Linked DNA regions of Homo sapiens: all the other regions are linked to region 2. Evidence: promoter capture Hi-C in 16 types of primary human blood cells and fetal thymus (Javierre and others, 2016). All regions are on one chromosome and are shown on one strand. Each heading gives the region's core, a stretch centred on a gene start or on the middle of the fragment in contact. The rest is flanking DNA. Distances are from core to core; before and after follow the strand shown.

The links. Contacts are between HindIII fragments. The CHiCAGO score rates a contact against its expected background, and 5 or more counts as called.
Region 1: a fragment that was not itself captured here is called in contact with the fragment with the promoter of TSPYL4 in region 2 in 1 of 17 cell types (total B cells); the score reaches 5.2 in total B cells.
Region 3: a contact is called between a fragment that was not itself captured here and the fragment with the promoter of TSPYL4 in region 2, in 2 of 17 cell types (total B cells and monocytes). The highest score is 6.4, in total B cells.

Annotation. Positions count from the first base shown.
Region 1 is chr6:116,493,835-116,497,044 of GRCh38, reverse strand. TRAPPC3L (trafficking protein particle complex subunit 3L) reads left to right here. Exons shown (of 5, transcript NM_001139444.3): 5 at 1-2,056. The coding sequence ends at 91. Among named protein-coding and RNA genes, the nearest start is that of CALHM5, 16 kb to the left of the region's middle. The HindIII fragment of the contact is 2,219 bases long and covers 838-3,056 here.
Region 2 is chr6:116,252,442-116,255,495 of GRCh38, reverse strand. TSPYL4 (TSPY like 4) reads left to right here and starts at 1,421. Exons shown (of 1, transcript NM_021648.5): 1 at 1,421-3,054. The coding sequence starts at 1,488. The coding sequence ends at 2,732. It also overlaps a transcript of DSE not described here. RefSeq lists enhancers at 1,050-1,279, 1,690-1,849. The HindIII fragment of the contact is 9,221 bases long and covers 1-2,752 here.
Region 3 is chr6:116,445,045-116,448,360 of GRCh38, reverse strand. No RefSeq gene overlaps it. Among named protein-coding and RNA genes, the nearest start is that of CALHM6, 15 kb to the left of the region's middle. The HindIII fragment of the contact is 2,508 bases long and covers 148-2,655 here.

The DNA of each region.
Region 1 (3,210 bases), core at 698-3,197, 240 kb before region 2:
GCAAGACAGACTAAAAGGTGACAGTGTGACAGAAATAGGAATAACATTTCTAAAAAAGCGAGACGAGAAAAAATATAGAGGGAAAAAATGAAGACTAGCACGGAAAATGCCACGGGGCGGCTAGCTGAGTTAATGTTAGCTAAACATGTATAGACATAGAAATTTTGAATTGCTTCATAGCATGAGCTTTGAAAGGTTTATAAATCAGCCAGAAATTTGAAATGCAGGGCATGAAGGCTTAAAGGTTTTTTTTTCCTTTTGCTTATAAATCACGCATTTTCAATCTCATGTCCACAAAATTTCATATGCAAATAGCTCCTTACAAGATAGCAGGCAGGAATTCCACATCTTACACTATCCATCCTCAGAGAAGCTGTTCATTCCATTCACGTATGGTAATGGGAAAAAAAAGCAGCACAAATACAAACAGTTGTGTATTTGTCTCTTTGCTGAAAAAAAAAGAATGAAATGATATAGCATAGAGTTTCCTATATATAGACAGTAGTTTCTAGATACTGTATATTGCATTCCTTAAATAAATAATTCCATATTTCTAAAAAAATATGATTTGATTTTTCTCATGTATTAGCTTGGCTTATAGCTTTAGCCTTCTGACGCTACCCTTGATTTGTAATCACCAAGTCAAGCTATTTATTCAATGATAATTTTGAAACATTTATAAATAACATTTAATTTTAATTTATTTAGTTTTAATATAGCTGGCATCAACCAAATTCCTTCCTTTTCTCATGAAATATTGCTTGATGGTCAGGCCAGGAAACTTCTAAAATAAAGGATAAATAATATTCTTTGAAATTACTTTCTTACCCCAAAGCTTATTAATTCAGAATTTCTACTATCATTTTCATCCTCTAAAAAATCTTCCAAAGGATGTTTTCTTTGTGACCAGAACACATTTAAAATTCAAGTGTACCGAATTAAATACACAGTAATCTTCACCAGACCACTGGCACACAAGGGCGGCCTACAAGGCAGCCCAGAATCTACTGGGCTCTGCAGAGAGCCCAAATTGCAAGTACAAGTTATAATTAGTGTGATACCACCCTACGGAATTGGAGAAAATATTTGTAAACTATGTATCTGACACCCTTGTGCTATTAATAACCAGAATATATAAGGAGTTCAACCAACTCCATAGGAAAAAATTAAAATTAATAATCCAATTAAAGATGGGCAAAAGATCTGAATAGACATTTCTCAAAAGAAGACATACACATACAAATGGCAAACAGGTATATGAAAAGGTGCTCAACATCATTGGTCATCAGAGAAATGCAAATCAAAACTATAATGAGATATTATCTCACCCTAGTTAAAAATGGCTTTTATCCAAAACAGGCAATAGTGAATGCTTGCAAAGATGTGGAGAAGAGGGAACTCTGGTACACTGTTGGTGGGAATGTAAATTAGTATAACCACTATGGAGAACGGTTTGGAGGTTCCTCAAAAAACAAAAAATAGAATGATCATATGATCCAGCAATCCCACTGCTGGATATATACCCAAAATAAAGGAAATCAGTATATCAAAGAGATATCTGCACTCCCATGTTTACTGCAGAACTACTGACGATAGCTAAGATTTGGAAGAAATCTAAGTGTCCTTCAATAGATTAATGAAATAAAGAAAATATGGTACATATACACAATGGAGTACTATTCAGCCATAAAGAAGAATGAGATCCTGTCATTTGCAAAACATGGATGGAACTAGAGGTCATTATGTTCAATGAAATATGTCAGGACAGAAAGACAGACTTTGCATGTTCTCATTTATTTGTAGGAGCTAAAAATTAAAACAGTGGACTCATGGAGATATGGAGTAAAATGATGGATATCAGAGGCTGGGAAGGGTAGTTTCAAGAGGAGTGGAGATGGTTAATGGGTACAAAAATATAGTTAGATAGAATGAATAAGATCTGGGTCGGGCATGGTGGCACAAGCCTGTAATCTCTGCACTTTGGGATGCCAAAGTGGGAGGATTGCTTGAGCTCAGGAGTTTGAGACCAGCTTGGGTAACATAGACCCCTGTCTCTACAAAAAAAAAAAAAAAAAAAAAAAAATATATATATATATATATATGTATGTATAGTGCATACCTGTGGTCCCAGCTACTCAGGAGGCTGAAGTGGGAGGATTGATTAAGGCCAGGAGGTTGAGGCTGCAGTGAGCCATGATTGTGCCACTGCCCTCCAATCCGGGCAACAGAGTGAGACCCTGTCTTAAAAAAAAAATGTACAAGAATGAATAAGATCAAGTATTTGACAGTGCAACAGGGTAAGTACAGTTGATAATAATTTTTTGTACATTTAATAGTAATTAAGATAAAAATGGATTGTTTGTGACAGAAAAGATAAATGCTTGAGGTAATGGATACCCCATTTACCCGATGTGATTGTTATGTATTGTATGCCTGTATGAAAATATCTCATGTACCCCATAAATAAATATAGCTACTATGTACCCACAAAAAAATAAAAATTAAAAAATAATCAAAATAAATAAAACTGGTATAAGTGATATGTTCGTGATAGACGTCAATTAGGATTCAGGAGCCTGTTCTGAGTCCCTGTCCAGTTCTGTTTCTAGGGGCTTCAGCTGATCCTGAGTAGTGACTGATCCTGGGCAAGGCACATAATCTCTCTCTCTCTCTCTGTCTCTCTCTCTCTCTCTCTTTCCCCACCCCTTTAAAATCAGGATGCAATAAATGTCTAAAACTGTACCAATGGGTACAGTTTAAACGATATAAATGACCACTGAAATTCTACATTTTTGGACTTTAGAACACTGCAGGGAAATTGTTTGTTCTCCACTTAGTCAACTGTCTCTTAAAAAGGACATTGCAATAGGCATAAAGGAAATAGGGTCATTGGCACACAGCTGAGGCATCGATGGAAGAACCTTCAAACCTGCTCCACAGAAGACCAGGAATAGAATCTGGAAGAAGATATCTGACATTAGAAGGAGTATCACAATGTCATGTATTTTAAACTGATGCCTCCATAAGAATTCTTGCCTACACTCTATCCTAAAGCTTCTTTTTAGGATTTTTTCCATCTTCTGCTCAGTTGCCTCTTTCTCATTTATAATATATGCATTCCTCCCAGGAACCCAAGATATTCATGCCTAAGGCCCTCCCTCTTAAATTAGCACCCAACTAGCTATCCTGAAAATATTCCAGGCCTTGGGG
Region 2 (3,054 bases), core at 172-2,671:
CTGGCAGGCAGTAAAGAGGTCATTCTGGACACATTGTCCTTGGGTAGGCTGACTAGGCATACAAAAAATCCTGCAAGGCAGGCTGTTTCTCCGTATTGTCTGCCAGTGACCTTTCATCAGTACTTTATCTTAGTTGAACCAGAACTACACTCCTTCCCTCGCTAGAAGTCTCAGTATATATGATGTATTCCTCTAAGAGGAATCCTTTTTCTCTAAATCTGTACTTCTGAGCCTGTATTTGAAAGTGATCATAATCTGGGGGGCTTAAAATGGAGTTTCTTTTACAAAGAGTTATAATCATAACCGTTTATTTGAATATAAATTTGACATTAAACATAAATATGCAAAATTTAAATTTCCCTTTGGTCTTGCATTTTTCTAAGGATTAACACCATTATTCTCACACTCCAACAAACTAATATATTGTACTGATAATCACTATCAAATGAATTGTAAGAGCTAACTGACTCGAATAGACAATAACTAACCTTACTTTTAAAGTATTTTAAGAGACAGTAGCATAGATGCCTGCACATAGCTGATTATTGCTCCTGTGCTGCAGTGAATTACCACATGAACACATTTTGAAAAGATTTGTTAGCTTCATGTCCACAGGCATTATGAAGCAGGAACCACTTTTAGATTAAGATTGTAACCTGAGGAAAAGAACATATGCATCAGTTTAGAAATTAAAATCCCCTGAGATATTTCTTTCAGTAATGCTTAAAAGCCTAAATTTGTGCTCGTGTGCCAGTCACCTCTACGTAAGGAAAAACATTTTGCTACTCTTTGTTAAAAGTGAAGAGGAAATATTGTCCACTTGTTTTGTAGATGTTGGCCAAATTATATAAACTTTAAAATCTGTAAGACAAATTGAAATATTCCTTTATTATGTCTTGTTAGGATGAGAGAAGTTTGCCTTTCAGCTGCTCCTTAATTTTAAAAATAACAACACAGCAACACTTCTCTTTAAAATCAAACTCTGCTCATTTAAATTCTTTGGTAATAGCCATGAATCCACACCTTAAAAGAAGGAAGGCCTGTGAGTTCGTGAATCCACTTTCCTACTCAGGAGAAGCCCTATGAACTGACTTGAATAGACAGTAACTCACCTTAAAGTAAATATTTTCAGAAACAATAGGTTAGGTGCCTTAGAAATTCATTCAGAGGCTTAGAAATCCACATTAACACAGTTCTTACATGCTTGAGTCTGGTCTACATCCATTTACGTAAGTAAAACTCCCCTTCCAGACTGACGAAATTCTTTTTGTGACAAGAAGACAAAGGAATACGATGGATTGATAAGCGTAGTCAACCGCGCAGAGAGTTCTCGCGCGATGTTACGACGCTACCGCCCTGACATCACCAGTTGCCATGGTAGCACCGCCGAGAGTAAAGGAGGGGTGGTGCTAGACGTTTCGGGCAGAGCTCGGCCGCTGCGGAGGACAAGGAACTCTCCCTCTCCCACTAGTCTGACTTCTTCCAAAATGAGCGGCCTGGATGGGGGCAACAAGCTCCCTCTCGCCCAAACCGGCGGCCTGGCTGCTCCCGACCATGCCTCAGGAGATCCGGACCGAGACCAGTGCCAAGGGCTCCGTGAAGAAACCGAGGCGACACAGGTGATGGCGAACACAGGTGGGGGCAGCCTGGAGACCGTTGCGGAGGGGGGTGCATCCCAGGATCCTGTCGACTGTGGCCCCGCGCTCCGCGTCCCAGTTGCCGGGAGTCGCGGCGGTGCAGCGACCAAAGCCGGGCAGGAGGATGCTCCACCTTCTACGAAAGGTCTGGAAGCAGCCTCTGCCGCCGAGGCTGCTGACAGCAGCCAGAAAAATGGCTGTCAGCTTGGAGAGCCCCGTGGCCCTGCTGGGCAGAAGGCTCTAGAAGCCTGTGGCGCAGGGGGCTTGGGGTCTCAGATGATACCGGGGAAGAAGGCCAAGGAAGTGACGACTAAAAAACGCGCCATCTCGGCAGCAGTGGAAAAGGAGGGAGAAGCAGGGGCGGCGATGGAGGAAAAGAAGGTAGTGCAGAAGGAAAAAAAGGTGGCAGGAGGGGTGAAAGAGGAGACACGGCCCAGGGCCCCGAAGATCAATAACTGCATGGACTCACTGGAGGCCATCGATCAAGAGTTGTCAAACGTAAATGCCCAGGCTGACAGGGCCTTCCTTCAGCTTGAGCGCAAGTTTGGCCGCATGCGAAGGCTCCACATGCAGCGCAGAAGTTTCATTATCCAGAATATCCCAGGTTTCTGGGTTACTGCCTTTCGAAACCACCCCCAGCTGTCACCTATGATCAGTGGCCAAGATGAAGACATGCTGAGGTACATGATCAATTTGGAGGTGGAGGAGCTTAAACACCCCAGAGCAGGCTGCAAATTCAAGTTCATCTTTCAGGGCAACCCCTACTTCCGAAATGAGGGGCTTGTCAAGGAATATGAACGCAGATCCTCTGGCCGGGTGGTGTCTCTTTCCACTCCAATCCGCTGGCACCGAGGCCAAGACCCCCAGGCTCATATCCACAGAAACCGGGAAGGGAACACTATCCCTAGTTTCTTCAACTGGTTTTCAGACCACAGCCTTCTAGAATTCGACAGAATTGCAGAGATTATCAAAGGAGAACTGTGGCCCAATCCCCTACAATACTACCTGATGGGTGAAGGGCCCCGTAGAGGAATTCGAGGCCCACCAAGGCAGCCAGTGGAGAGCGCCAGATCCTTCAGGTTCCAGTCTGGCTAATCTCTGTCCTGTGAGAAGCTTCTGCACAAGTTTCCTTACCACCTCCTCTTGGACCTATGCTTGGCCAACAGCATGCAGTCTTCCATCTGCTTTCTCTTCATACTGTGGATTATCTTTTCCTTTGGTTCTAAATCTTCAGTAATCGGTTGCAAGATTGTTGGCTTACCTGCCTGTGCCATTCTTCCTCTGGGCCTTCATGCTTTTCTGCATTGTGTTAACATGTTTCAAGTGCATGGCCTTCTACGGCTTCTATGCCAAGCGTATGATACTATAGATATAGTGTACCATACTGCCTTTCTTTGCATGGCTTGGACCCTATCTG
Region 3 (3,316 bases), core at 152-2,651, 190 kb before region 2:
ATTTTTTCCTCATTAAGGATTATATTTCTTAATTTTTATGGCAAGAGAAAGACAGCAATCCAATTACATTATTTTCCAACTGAAAACCTCCAATACTTCCAGTTTTCCAGAGGACAACTTCCATATCCCTACATTGGCACAGAAGCTTGTCCCAGACTTGCTCCACACATCTCCACCCCACTTCATCCCATGCACCCCGGTTTCCAGCACCACTGACCCCCTTACTTTTCCTGTGCATACACATCACAGTCTTCCTCAATACCATGCCTTCTCACTTGTTTTTCTTTCTTCCTTAAATGACATTTCTGTTTTTCACCTGGCAAACTACTCTCTTCCTTTAATACTCAGTCTGATGTAACTTCTTCATTCAAGTCATCTTCAAAACCCCCAGAGTTAGCATTTCTATTTTTTTTGCTCTCACACCATTTAAAAAGAAATAACTGTGCAATAGTTCTTGACATGCCTATTGCAACATTCCTTTCCAGGGATCTGTCTCTCCTACTATGGTGGGAGCTCCCAGGGATCCAGGGCCTCTTCTCATTCATCATTGCTTCCCTCAGTAGAGTCAGCTGCTCTCTGACCACAACTCTCTTTCCACACACGAAGTAGACCTCACTACATTGTATATTATCTTTATCTACTTACAGAGCTGTCTCAAGCTATGTTGTGCAATTTTATGAGAATTAAAAATGAGATAGTATGAAAAACCCAGCACAGTGTTTAGAATATTTTAGTTTCAGTTACATTTTTTAAAAGGTTTTTTTAAAAAGTAGTGACTCAGAAATGTGCTAGAGGGTGCTGATTCACTGTTTTGTTATAGACGATGGTACTCAGGTTGTTAACATTTGACTTGCTCATCTAACCAGGAGCCAAAGAAATAATCAGATTTTTAGTAAGCAAAATATCAGCCATTTTTATTTAATAAATAAATTAATACATTTCAAGTGTTTGTGTCTATAGTTGACTTGAAATTATTTTGGGGAAGAATAAGACAACAACCAGATTGATGGCTGACGGCATGATGTTGCTTGTTTTAGTCCCTGTTTGTATATATCCCCCAATCCCCCAACCTAAGGTTTGTCCGACAAGCAGTGAAAACTCAAAGCAGGCAGTGTTGATTTTGGCAGTGCCCCAACTTTCCTTAAAGTAAAGAAATGCCAAACAAAGTGTTTCCTCAACTGTCAAATGGGAAGGCTGAACTAGATCATCTTTGGGGTCCCTTTCAATTCTAACATGCTATAATACATACTTCTAGTTCGTTAAAAAAAAGAAACAGGCATGACCTCTTTAAAAACCACACACATACATACATTCGACCAAGAACTGACAAAATTCAATGAAAAGTAAACCAAAAAAAATTTTAAATCTGCCTTAACAGAAAAAAAAAAAAAGAAGAAAAACCAAACTGGAGTTCCATTTATTCCTTCCATGTAAAGCTGGGTTTAAAAAAGCAATATGAGTGACAAATGATTGACTGCTTGAAAGATGTATTGATTGTGAGATATTTTCTAGTTTCTTCTGTATCTCCACATCTTCTGTTAATAATTATTCTAGCTAAATCTTCTCTTCTTTAGGAGAGGATGATAAAGTAGGTTTATGTTATATAAAGCATTGGTCAGCTGATTGAAAGCGTTTTACAATGACTCCATTCACTTCAACCACCTGAAAAACCACAAACATTTATGACAGTCTTAAAAGTCCAGGAAACAATACTAAATTAAGAGATGGAGACTGCAGATAAATATATTAGTAAATAATTTGCTTTTATGTTTATGAAGCTCAATCAAAGTGACTCACAGTTTGGGTGCAAGATGAGAGTAGACACAAAAAGCAGAAGTCTGGTTTTGCAACTGATTATTTTATGATGTCTGTAGGCTGTGCTGCAGGATCCTAAACTATGACAAATAGTTATAGTAATTTCTAAAATGTGAGGATGTTCAGTAGTCTTTTTTTTTTTTTTTTTTTTTGAGATAGGACCTGACTCTGTGCCCAGGCTGGAGTGCAGAGGCCTGATCTTGGCTCACTGCAACCTCTGCCTCCTGGGACTCAAGCAATCTTCCCACCTCAGCCTCCACAGCAGCTGGCACTACAGGCGTGCACCACCACACCCAGCTAATTTTTGTATTTTTAGAAGAGACAGGGTTTCACCATGTTGCCCAGGCTGGTCTTGAATTCCTGGGCTTAAGCTATCCGCCACCTCAGCCCCACAAAGTATGGGATTACAGGTGTGAGGTACATCACCTGGCCCAGTAGTCTATCTTTAACAAAGATAATCTACTTTGACAATTTTTTTGCTTGTTCACTTAAGTTTCATGAGATTAAAGGCAAACAATTATGGTGAAAGTTTAATAGTTTTGATGTAACTATGCTTATAACTCAGTATTTTTAATGATTATAATGTAGCATTTTGAGCACTCTAAATAATTAAAATTCAAGTTTAGACATTGTTTTATTTTGAGTTTTATGCTCTAATCCATAATTACTGTTGGCTGTATGTCTCTGGTCACAGTTCTTAGCCTCTCTGAACCTAGCTTCCTAATTTATAAGATGGGGCTGTAGCTATTATTTTCCTTACAGTATGCAGATGCGTACAAATTTCTTCAAACTTTGCTAGGCTTCAGTAAGACTGCTATTATCATTGCTATCTAGTAAGCTTTAGCATAATAATGGCGTAAACTTGGACTAGGCAATGTTTTTATGAATTTTAGCACATTTTATAAAATAAGCCTGCATGTGGGCTCATTGCATACCATTTAAGAAACAAAACTTCTTTTACAGAATTATATTCTTTCATTCCCTACTTCTTCCTCTGACATCCAAATAATTTTTTTAATTAAAAATGACCTATCTTCAGTAGTGAATTCACGAAGGTCCTCTCATCATCCATAAGACTCTTAAAACATGCACTAGGCAACAGGTGCCATGGTTGACTCTCCACGTGTGCAGGTGTCGCAGAAAAGCCAGCTGAATAACCAACCCTCCCAACCACACTGCTTGCCCACACCCTTGACACCCACACCACATTGTCCTATGTTCTCTAGGAAGTCTGCTTTGCTGGCATGGCTATGCTTTCTCGATTGCACAGTGTCATGAACTCACAAGGCATTCTTATGGGCAATGGCTGAAGTTTAGCAACAGTCTGCTGATTACTGGTGGTTTACAACATCTCACACAAATGGTGTGTTATTTTAAGTTGTGCTTTGGAATCTGGGCTCTCGATCCCACTTGGGACCACCCTGTGTTTAGCAATCATATAAGCAGCTGCTTGCTTACCTTGTTAACATCTGTCTTTCACATGTACCCTGTCCTGGAGATT